2 separate regions of the Homo sapiens genome follow, and region 1 is linked to region 2. The links are contacts of gene promoters, found by promoter capture Hi-C in human tissues and cell types (Jung and others, 2019). All regions are on one chromosome and are shown on one strand. The core of a region is centred on a gene start or on the middle of the fragment in contact, and the rest is flanking DNA. Distances in the headings are between cores, read along the strand shown.

The links. The method cuts DNA at HindIII sites, captures the fragments that hold promoters and counts their contacts. A contact is called where the count stands out against the background at its distance.
Region 1: a contact is called between a fragment that was not itself captured here and the fragment with the promoter of LSG1 in region 2, in 1 of the 25 tissues and cell types used here (lymphoblastoid cells).

What each region holds. Positions count from the first base shown.
Region 1 is chr3:195,047,271-195,052,986 of GRCh38, reverse strand. No RefSeq gene overlaps it. Among named protein-coding and RNA genes, the nearest start is that of XXYLT1-AS1, 44 kb to the left of the region's middle. The HindIII fragment of the contact is 4,889 bases long and covers 2,022-5,716 here.
Region 2 is chr3:194,668,186-194,673,619 of GRCh38, reverse strand. It overlaps LSG1 (large 60S subunit nuclear export GTPase 1), which reads left to right and starts at 1,429. Exons shown (of 14, transcript NM_018385.3): 1 at 1,429-1,556; 2 at 3,485-3,611. The coding sequence starts at 1,458. The HindIII fragment of the contact is 4,871 bases long and covers 1-1,591 here.

The sequences.
Region 1 (5,716 bases), core at 3,217-5,716, 380 kb before region 2:
AGTAAGCAAATAAAAATTATTGACTCCAGAAAAAAAGGTTTAAAGAAAGAATATGCATTTGCTGGGCCCATCAATGAAAATATTAACTTAATCCTATCAGTGAAATACTACTACAGATTTTTTTTTAAAACTTGAAGTGCAAAGAGGGAAATAGATGATGTAAAATATCTCAAATCATTATTTACTATAATAAGAAGTTAACAGATAATATATTAAATCGAGGCTGGGCATGGTAGCTCACACCTGTAATCCCAGCACCTTGGGAGGCTGAGGCAGGTGGATCAGTTAAGGCCAGGAGTTCGAGACCTGCCTGGCCAACATGGCAAAACCCAGTCTCTACTAAAAATACAAAAATTGTCCGGGCATGGTGGTACGTGCCTGTAATCCCAGGTACTCGGGAGGCTGAGGCAGAGAATCGATTGAACCTGGGAGGCAGAGGCTGCAGTGAGCCGAGACTGTGCCACTGCACTCCAGCCTGGGCGACAGAGCGAGACTCCATCTCAAAAAAAAAAAAAAATTACACACACACACACACATTTATATAAAATTGATTGTAAAAAGGCTAGCAAGATATGCATGCTGTTTAGAAATATGGAGATAAATAGGTAAATCCTGGAAGGAAACAAATGAAAAGAGATTGTTTCTGAAGAGGTGTGGGGAAGATAGATAAGATACTCCTGCTTTTTAAAAATAAGCTTTTTAGCACTGTTTGGGTTTTTAAAAAATTATTTCTATGTGACGCTTAGACAAAAAATAAGAAAGCACTGATACATGATATTTAGAGCCTCTGGACTAATTGAAATCCTTAAGAAGAGAGTGTAAATAGTGAGAAGAGGGCCCAGGACCAAACTCCGAACACTCCAACATTCACACACTGAGCTGAAAAGGAGGAGGAATTAGCAAAGGAGATTGAAGTAACAGGGGAACAACAAAGTGAAGGGGCCAGAAGAACCGAGAGAAGAAAGTTGCTCAAGAAGAAAGTGGTGCTTAACTGAATACTGTTGACCCTGGAAAGCAAAATAGGACTGAAATTATTCAGGATACATGAATGCAATGGAATTAAATATGTCGTGAACTGAAGATAATCTACATGATTACCTCCACAGATGTAGAAAAGGCTTTCAGAAAAGTCAACATCCCTTCATGTCAAAAACTCACAATAAACTAGGTATTGAAGGAATGTACCTCAAAATAATAAGAGCCATCTATGTGACAAACCCACAGCCAACACCATACTGAACAGGGAAAAGCTGGAAGCATTTCCCTCGAAAACCTGCAGAAGACAAGGATGCCCTCTCCCACCACTCCTATTCAACATATTGAAAGTCCTGACCAGGGCAATCAGGCAGGAGAAAGAAATAAAGGGCATCCAAATAGGAAGAGGGGAAGTCAAACCAACCCTGTTTGCAGATGACATGATTCTACATCTAGAAAACCTTATACTCGCAGCCCAAAAGCTCATTCCACTGGTAAACAACGTCAGCAAAGTTTCAGGATAAAAAATGAATGTACGAAAATTACGAGCATTCCTATACACCAACAACAGCCAAGCTGAGAGCCAAGTCAGAAAGGCAATCCCATTCACAATTGCCACAAAAAGAATAAAATACCTAGGAATATAGCCAACCAGAGAGGTGAAAGATCTCTACAATGAGAATTACAAAACACTGCTCAAAGAAATCAATTACAAAACACTGCTCAAAGAAATCAGAGATGACACAAACAAATGGAAACACATTTTATGTTCATGACTAAGAAGAACCAATGTCATTAAAATGGCCATACTGCCCAAAGCAATTTATAGATTCAATGCTATTCTTATCAAACTACCAACAACATTCTTCACAGAACTAGAAAAAAGTATTTTAAAATTCATATGGAACCAAAAAAAGAGCCCGAATAGCCAAGGCAATCCTAAGCAAAAAGAACAAAGCTGGAGACATCACATTACCCAACTTCAAACTATACTACACGGCTATACTACAAACTATACTTCACCAAAACAGCATACTACTGGCACGAAAACAGACACAGACCAATGGAATAGAACAGAGAGCCCAGAAATATGGCCACACATTTACAACCATCTGATCTTCAGCAAAGCTGACAAAAACAAGCAATGGGAAAAGAACTCCCTATTCAATAAATGGTACTGGGATAACTGGCTAGCCATATGCAGAAGACTGAAAATAGACCCCTCCCTTACATCACATACAAAAATCAGCTCAAGATGGACTAACGACTTAAATATAAAACCCAAAACTATAAAAACCCTAGAAGACAACCGAGGCAATACCATCCTGGACATAGGAACAGGCAAAGATTTCATGGCGAAGATGCCAAAAGCAATCGCAACAAAACAAAAATTGACAAAAGGGATCTAGTTAAATTTAAGAGCTTCTGCACAGCAAAAGAAACTATCAACAGAGTAAACAGTTTACAGAATGAAAGAAAATGTTTGCAAACTATGCATCTGACAAAGGTCTAATATCCAGCATCTATAAGGAACTTAAACGAATTTATAAGAAAAACACAAACAAAAAAGTGGCAAAGGACATGAACAGACACTTTTCAAAAGAAGACATACACGGGGCCAAACAGCACTTGAAAAAAAGCTCAACATCACTGATCATTAGAGAAATGCAAATCGTACCAGTCAGAATGACTATTATTAAAAAGTCAAAAAAGAACAGATACTGGCAAGGTTGTGGAGAAAAGAAGACTTTTTTTTTATACATTGTTGATGGGAGTGTAAATTAATTCAACCATTGTGGAAAGCAGTGTGACGATTCCTCAAAGAGCTAAAAGCAGAACTCCCATTCGACCCAGCAATCCCATTACTGGGTATATACCTAGAGGAACAGAGATCATTGTATTATAAAGACGCATGGCCCTGACTGTTCATTGCAGCACTACTCACAATAGCAAAGACATAGAACCAGCCTAAATGCCCATCAGTGACAGATTGGATAAAGAAAACGTGGTACATACACACCATGGAATACTATGCAGCCAAAAAAAAAAACAGAAGGAGACATGTCTTTTGAGGAAACATGGATGGAGCTGGAGGCCATTATCCTTAACAAACTCATGCAGGAACAGAAAACCAAATACCCCATGTTCTCACAAGTGGGAGATAAATGATGAGAACACATGGACGCAAAGAAGGGAACGAGACACTGGGGTCTACCTGAGGGTGGAGGGTGGGAGGAAGAGAGGAGCAAAAAAGCTAAGTGCTTGATACTAGGCTTAGTGCCTACGTGATGAAATAATCTGTACAGCAAACCCCCATGACATGAGTCTATATAACAAACTTGCACATGTTCCCCTGAACCTCAAATAAAAGCTTTTTTTTTTTTTTTTAAGAATTAAAGATCGTTTTAAACTGTGTGCTTCAGACATAGCTAAGTCAGACTGGTCTCCTTCCCTAGTATAGACTTACAGGAGTTGACTGTCATTATTTCACTGTGATCGCCTTTCAACTCCTGCTTCCAGTATAGAAGAACTTTTTCCTTTGTGTTCCAAATCTACCTTGAGCTGGAGCCACCTCATATTGGGAAAGCTGATTATTAATTTTTCAAGAATTTTGTGATCCAGTTGTTCAAAACAACCATTATTAAAAATTAAATTGGCTGGGCGCGGTGGCTTATGCCTGTAATCCCAGCACTTTGGGAGGTCAAGGTGGGCGGATCACAAGGTCAGGAGTTCGAGACCAGCCTGGCCAATATGGTGAAACCCTGTCTCTACCAAAAATACAAAAATTAGCCGGGCATGGTGGCAGGTGCCTGTAGTCCCAGCTACTCAGGAGGCTGAGGCAGGAGAGTCACTTGAGCCCGGGAGGCAGAGCTTGCAGTGAGCCAAGATTGTGCCACTGCACTCCAGCCTGGGCAACAGAGCAAGACTCCATCTCAAAAATAAATAAATAATTAAATTAGATAAACCATCAATTAGATCCTAAAAACAAAGGTAGTCAATATTCAAAATACATCAATTATTAATTATCATCCTACATTTTACTATAATCTATGCCCTTGAGGTTATCTGTATGTGTATGGTAGAAATACTATATGAGAGTGTGCTACTATCCATCTTTTCCCAGTTCCACATCAGTGACATCACGTTGGTAACTTAAAATTGTGGGAATAGTAACACCATGGAAATTGGCAAATGGCACAAGCCAGGGCTTTTTGTTCCGGAGAGCAAGTGGTTAATCAGCATATCACTGCTGATGCAATCCTTTGCCTGTTTCCCTTGAACGTACAGGTGAGTGGATAGGAAGCTGTTTGGTGTCTGGTTGGTTGATCGGATGACTGGACGGATGGGCGATGGATTGATTGTATGGCTGGAGGCTGCTTCCCTTTCTGACAGTCACTGGACCCTAAAGACCATGTCCCCAGTGCATGAAACAGCAGAGCAGCACGAGGATGGCCTGACTTTAGATGGTCAGCCAAAGGCCTATTCTTAGCTGAAACCCAGTATCAGTCTGCTCACTCTTGCCTAAGTATAGGAAGTGGACAGCTTGCTTTGAGAAGTGGGGCAACATATCCACCTAAATGTTGCTGGAATAAGTAAAGCATTCCCTGCAGAGGAAAGGGACACCTTTATTCTCTTCGTGTCTGCAGGTGGCTTTGGTGCCAAGCTGTCCCCTGCCTGCTTCTGTTTTCACCCCCAGCCCCAGTGCTGCAGGCTGATGGGGCTCCTTCTCCACTGACTCGCGTTTCCTCATATTCATGGAGCTCTGCCGGCAGCTAGGCTGAGGGAGGAGCTGGGCATACAGCTCTGGCCATACAGAAGGTGCTGGTAAGAAACGGAGGCAGAGAGCAGTGCAACAGGATGCAGAGGGACCGGCACTATCAGGAGTGAGAGAGGTGAGAATGGCAGTGGGGTGGTGTGTGCGACCTCCTTCCACGGGAGCAGCAAGACGAGGCACCATGGACTCATTTGTATCTGCCGCCTCTTGTCCAAGCAGCTGTTGGAAAACAACTAACACCATTTTCTAGGACCCTTGAAAGGGAGGAGGTTGGGTTCCAGCCCCAGCTCTGCTTCTGATACCCTGTGTGACTCTGAGTATATTAATTCGCCACTCTGGGCCTCAATTTCCCATCTATAAAATAATTATGAGCTTAGATCAGTATCCCCATGTTAAAGGATACTTACTCTGTGGTCAAAAAAGTTTCTTGGGCAAATGTTTAAGAAACACTCCATTCACACTGGATCCCCTTCTTGGGGATTCTTAGTGCTCCTCAGTGCATTAAAGGCTCTGATCAGTCCTGCAGGAGAGGGCCATGTTTATTTTTAACCTAGCATGTCCCAAATGTATTTATCCACAGAAACCTTTTGAGACAATTGCTGTTCTGGAGTATCTCAGAATCGAGGTCCCTTTCAACTCTCTCATCTGTTCTGGTTTTATGGACTGTAAGACAGAAACGTCCTCCATGTGAGGAGTGCCTTGGAGGAGAGAGATGGACCATGTAAAGATGGAGGGAGTGGCCAGGCATGGAGGCTCATACCTGTAATCCCTGCACTTTGAGAGGCCAAGGTGGGTGGATCACGAGGTGGAGATCGAGACCATCCTGGCCAACACGGTGAAACCCCGTCTCTACAAAAAATACAAAAATTAGCTGGGCATGGTGGTGCGTGCCTGTAGTCCCAGCTACTCGGGAGGCTGAGGCAGGAGAATCGCTCCGACCCGGGAGGCAGAAGTTGCAGCGATCCA
Region 2 (5,434 bases), core at 180-2,679:
TTTTAATTGACAACTAAAAATTGTTTATTACTTACGTTGTACCGCATAATGTTTTGATATATGTGTACATTGTGGAATGGCTAAATCAAGCTATGCTAGGTAATATATGCATTACCTCGATCCTATGATTTAAAAATACATGTTTGGCCAGGCGCAGTGGCTCATACCTGTAATCCTAGCACTTTGGGAGGCCGAGGCGGGCGATCACCTGAGGTCAGGAGTTCGAGACCAGCCTGGCCAAAATAGTCAAACCCTGTCTCTACTAAAAATACAAAAATTAGCTGGGTGCGGTGGCACGTGTCTGTAATTCCCGCTACTCGGGAGGCTAAGGCAGGAGAATCACTTGAACCCGGGAAGCAGAGGTTGCAGTGAGCCGAGATCATGCCTTTGCACTCCACCTGGGGGACAGCGAGACTCTGTCTCAAAAGATAAAAATAAATAAATAATACATGTTAACAACCCTCATTCCCCACTCTCCCCAGGGGTGTACAGGCTAGTGACAAGACTTGGGTTTATTCCTGACACTGCACGCACTCAATCTACGACTTGCTCAAGCTGCTTCCTCTCTCCAAGCATCAAAACAAAGAGATGGTTCTCTGGATCAATGAGAATGTAGTTCACCAGCCACTCTAAGCTGACTTTCTATTATTCCCATTATAGGGAAATCAAACATTCAAGTGAGGAACAAAAGCCCAGGCCTCTAGGAGTGGAGCTGGCTCACTGTTTTCACTTTCATTTTAATTATTTTTAAAAAGGGTAATGAAAATATAATTAGAACTGTTTAAACATTTTTTTTTTCTTTGAAATAAAGCGTAAGTCACTTCCTGTTGGCTTTTCCTACAACCTTGCCAAGCTCTGGAAATACTATTCAGCCTCTCATTCCAAATTCACATCCAGGCGAAGACTTTTCTCCCCAGTTCGCAGCTGGGGTCGGCTAGATAAACAAAAAGTTAGTTGCTGTGCTGGACCTCGGAGAGACCACACCTCGGGACGCCAGCAGAAAACCAGCGCTGGGAAACGCCCCCGTCCCAGCGCCACCGAAACACTCTTCCTCCGAGTCTCCGCGTCCTCCTGACGGAAGCAGCGGAAGGCGGAGCTAGTGCCGCGAATAGGAACCGCCATGTTTCCGACGTGCTCTAGTTTCTCGCCGGACGCTAAAGACCGACGCACAAATTAAGAATGGACCATTCTTTTAACTCAGTCATTTATCCAAACTCGAGACATTCGCCAGGAAATCTATCGAAAATTTCCCAGAACCATTTTTTCACTTATATTCTATAATACTGGTAAAATCGAGACGTAAAAGGAGAACTTGAGAACAAGTCATTCTGCTTTCCCCTCTCAAGTTTGAGCCTGAACTACTTGGGCTCGCTTATCGTCACTTCCGGGGATCGAACTGTGAATCCCGGAAACTGCACGCGCCGAGCCGGGAAGCTTCGTCCAGCGGTCGTGTTGCCATGGGCCGGAGGAGAGCCCCGGCCGGTGGGTCGCTGGGACGGGCCCTTATGCGCCATCAGACTCAGCGGAGCCGAAGCCATCGTCACACTGACTCCTGGGTAAGACAGACCATGTCATCTTTCTTATCTTTTCTGTCTAGCCTGAGTGCTGCAAAATTCGGGGTCAAAAGTCAGATAAGTTTTGCAGGAGGGACGCCTCAGCCGGGTTTTGAAGGATGAGTTGGAGTTTCTGCCAAGCTGAGTAGCAGGCCCTCCTCCTGGCAAGGCCCAGAACACAAAGGTAGGAGAAGCTTGAAAGAAGAGTTAGTGTGGTGATGAGGCGTGGAGTGAGAATCTGAAGAGTCTTCAATGCCAGGTCTTGAGTACGTTTGGGTTTTGCCCTAGAAGCCACTGAAGTGCTTGGAACTTCCAGAGCAGGAAAAAGACAAAACGTATTTTTGTATTGATTTGTTCAAAGAATGGATCCTCCAGAAGCGGTTGGTTACTGCCAGAAATATAAAATAATTCAGATCCTTGCCTCATCCTTGCGAAGCACCCCCTAGTGGTTTAGCTCAAAGATAAATCATTGATTTTTCAGGTGTGACAAGACCTAATATTTTACTAGGTTATAGAAGGATCTTTAAAAAAATGAATGAAGTGATTTGGCTTGTGTTCATCATTCTAGTCGTTATTTTCACCATTCATTCCCCCGGGAATGAATGAGAACATGTTGAGTGCTAAGATCGTGTGCTAAATTTAGTTAAATATGTCCCTGGAGCTAAGTAAGCGTGTGCCACTGTCACACCAGCTGACTTTCATCCATATAGTCTGCAGAGTAAACAGCATGGAGTGCTTATCAGTATTCATCAGGTCAGAGTTACTCTGGACATTAGATTACTGGTAATTTTTATTAGCTTTGAAGCAACTTGTTACTAATGAAGCCTTTTAGGAAACTGTGGGAAGATTGAACATGAATGGTAAAGAATTGGATCCTAATTCCTTATTTTTGCTGATTCTATGCCCACTTAAACTTTTGGCCCTTAATATTTATTTAGGAAATTCATTCATCATTCAGTTATTCATTTTTAGAGACAGGGTCACACTCTGTCACCCAGGCTAGAGTGCCAGTGGTGTGATCATAACTCACCAATTCACTACAGTCTCAAACTTCTGGGCACAAATAATCCCCCTGCCTCAGTCTCTTGAGTAGCTGGCATTACAGGTGCACACCATCAGGCCTGGTTGTTTGGTTTTGTTTGTTTGTTTTGGAGAGACAGGGTCTTGCTGTGTTGCCCAAGCTGATCACAAACTCCTGGCCTCAAGCAATCCTCCTGCCTTAGCCTCTTGAGGAGCTGGGGTTACAGGCACAAACCACCACGCCTGGCAATTTTTTTTTATTTGTATCTATACTAAGTATATAGCTTAGGGTGATGGTTATCAAACTCTGGGTTGTGTCTGGAAGTCAATTTAGTGGTCTGCAGCTAGCTGTTTTGTTTTGTTTTTATTTTTTCCCCAGCAAGATAGAGAAATATCAGAATGTTGCATGTAATAGGGTGTGGTTTCAGTATTCTTCTATTGCCATTTTACTGTACTGAACGGTACTTGAATGCTTGTATCATTATATGTACATACACCTTTGGGTCACTATGTAAAATGTATTTCTTATTGTGGGATTATATCAAATAAAGTTTTGACTAATTTTGACTAGCACAGTCAGACAATCTGGGTTCAAGTTCTACCTGTGCCATTTAGATTTTGACTATAGGCAAGTTATTTTATCTGCTGAAGCCTTAGTTTCATCATCAGTAAAATGGAAATACAGTAAAATTCACCTCAAAAGATTTTGAAAATTAATGAAATGGTGAAAGGGAACTGCCTATTGTGAGGTAAGAACGTGTTCCTTTAAACATTAACTATAAGTAGTATTGATTCTAAAGGGACTACAACCACCCTCAAGACCATAGACTAGTTGCAAGGAATTTTAGAGCTTATTGGATGCCAAGAGCAGAAGAGAGCAGCTGTATTTATCACCCTGTGTTTTTTCATAGTTGCACACAAGTGAACTCAATGATGGCTATGATTGGGGTCGTCTTAATCTTCAGTCAGTGACTGAACAGAGCTCCCTTGATGACTTCCTTGCTACTGCAGAACTTGCAGGAACAGAGTTTGTAGCTGGTAAGTTGTTTATTGCTGAGTGCAGGTGAGACTGTCACATTTCCATCTGGGGCTGAGGTTTTTTTTGTTTTTTGTTTTGAGATGGAGTCTCGCTCTGTCACCCAGGCTGAAGTGCAGTGGCGTGATATCAGCTCACTGCAGCTCCGCCTCCTGGGTTCAAGCAATTCACCTGCCTCAGCCTCCCAAGTAGCTAGGACTACAGGCACGCACTGCCACGCCTGGCTAATTTTTGTATTTCTAGTAGAGATGGGGTTTCACCATGTTGGCCAGGATGTTCTTGATCTCCTGACCTCGTGATTCGCCTTCCTTGGCCTCCCAAAGTGCTGGGATTACAGGTGTGAGCCACCGTGCCCGCCCTGAGTCTTGAACAATGAGTAGATGTTCAAAGGACAGATGAGATAAGACCTTTTACACAGACAGGCAGAGGACTCGAGCCCAGATGTGAAGCAGCAGCCAACTTTGTTCAGAAAATGGCTAGAAGTTTGGCTTTGCTGGTGCAGGGGGCGGGATGTGATGAGCACAGGTGCTGAGGAGGTGGGCAAGGGCCAGATTCTGGAGAGAACAAAGGTTTAAGGCTTTACAGGGCTTTAAGCACGTGTACAACATGATTTCAGATTTCATTGTTTAGTGTTTTTTGGGGGGATGTGTGGGTTCCAGCTTTAATGAGCTACACAATTGGCAACTAAAAATTGTATATAGTTATAGTATATAGTGTGACGTTTGGTTATATGTATATATTGTGAAATGATTACTAAAATCAAGTAATTAACGTATCCATCACCTCACATTGTTTTTTTGTGTGTGCGGTGAGAACAAGATATATACTGTCTTAGCAAATTTCATATTATTAACTAATAAATGTGTTATTATTAACTATGGACACCAGGCTGTACATTAGACCTCCAGAACTTATTCATCCTGCCTCAGTAAAACTTTACCGTTTGACCAGTATCCTCCTATTTGCCCCACTCCCTAATCTCTGGTAACCACCATTTTCTCTCTGCTTCTATGAGCTCGGCTTTATTCCACGTATAAGTGAGATCATGTGGTATTTGTCTTTCTGTGCCTGGGTTATTTCTCATAGCAGAGTGGTTCATTCATATTGTCACAAGTGTCAACATTTCCCTCTTTTGTAATGCTGAATAGTATTCCATTGTATACTACATATACCACGTTTTCTTTATCCATTCATACGTTGATGGGCATTGAGGTTGGTTCCATATCTTGGCTCTTGTGAATAGCGCTGCAGGGAACATGGGAGTGCAGGTATGTCTCATGGGTACATGAGATTTCATTTTTTAAAAGATCACTGATGAATTTTAAGGAAGCAAGATGAGTTAGGAGACTGTATCACTTTAGTCTAGCAAAATAGGCCAGAACTGAAATACAGGTAGTAGAAGAAGGGAGAAAATAAGAGGAACAAGAACACTTAAGGAGCTAGAGTAAACCAGACTTGATGGAGAGGGTAGTGTAAGTGAAAAAGAGTGAAGGGACAAAAATAAACTCCTGGGTTTCACAGTGAAATAACCACTTCACCCACTAGGATAGCTAAAATAAAAGAGACTATAACAAATGTTGGTGAGGATGTAGAGAAATTATAACACCATACATCGCTGTGGGAGTATAAAATGGTGTAGCTGTTTTATAAAAAAATTTTGGCAGTTCCTCAAAAGGTAAAACATGGAATTACCATCTGATCCAGCAGTCCCACTCCTGGGTATATGCCCGAAAGAAATGAAAACATGTCTACACAAAAATATGTGCATGTGTATTCATAGCAGCATTATTCGTAATCACCAAAAAGTGGAAACACCAAAAAGTCC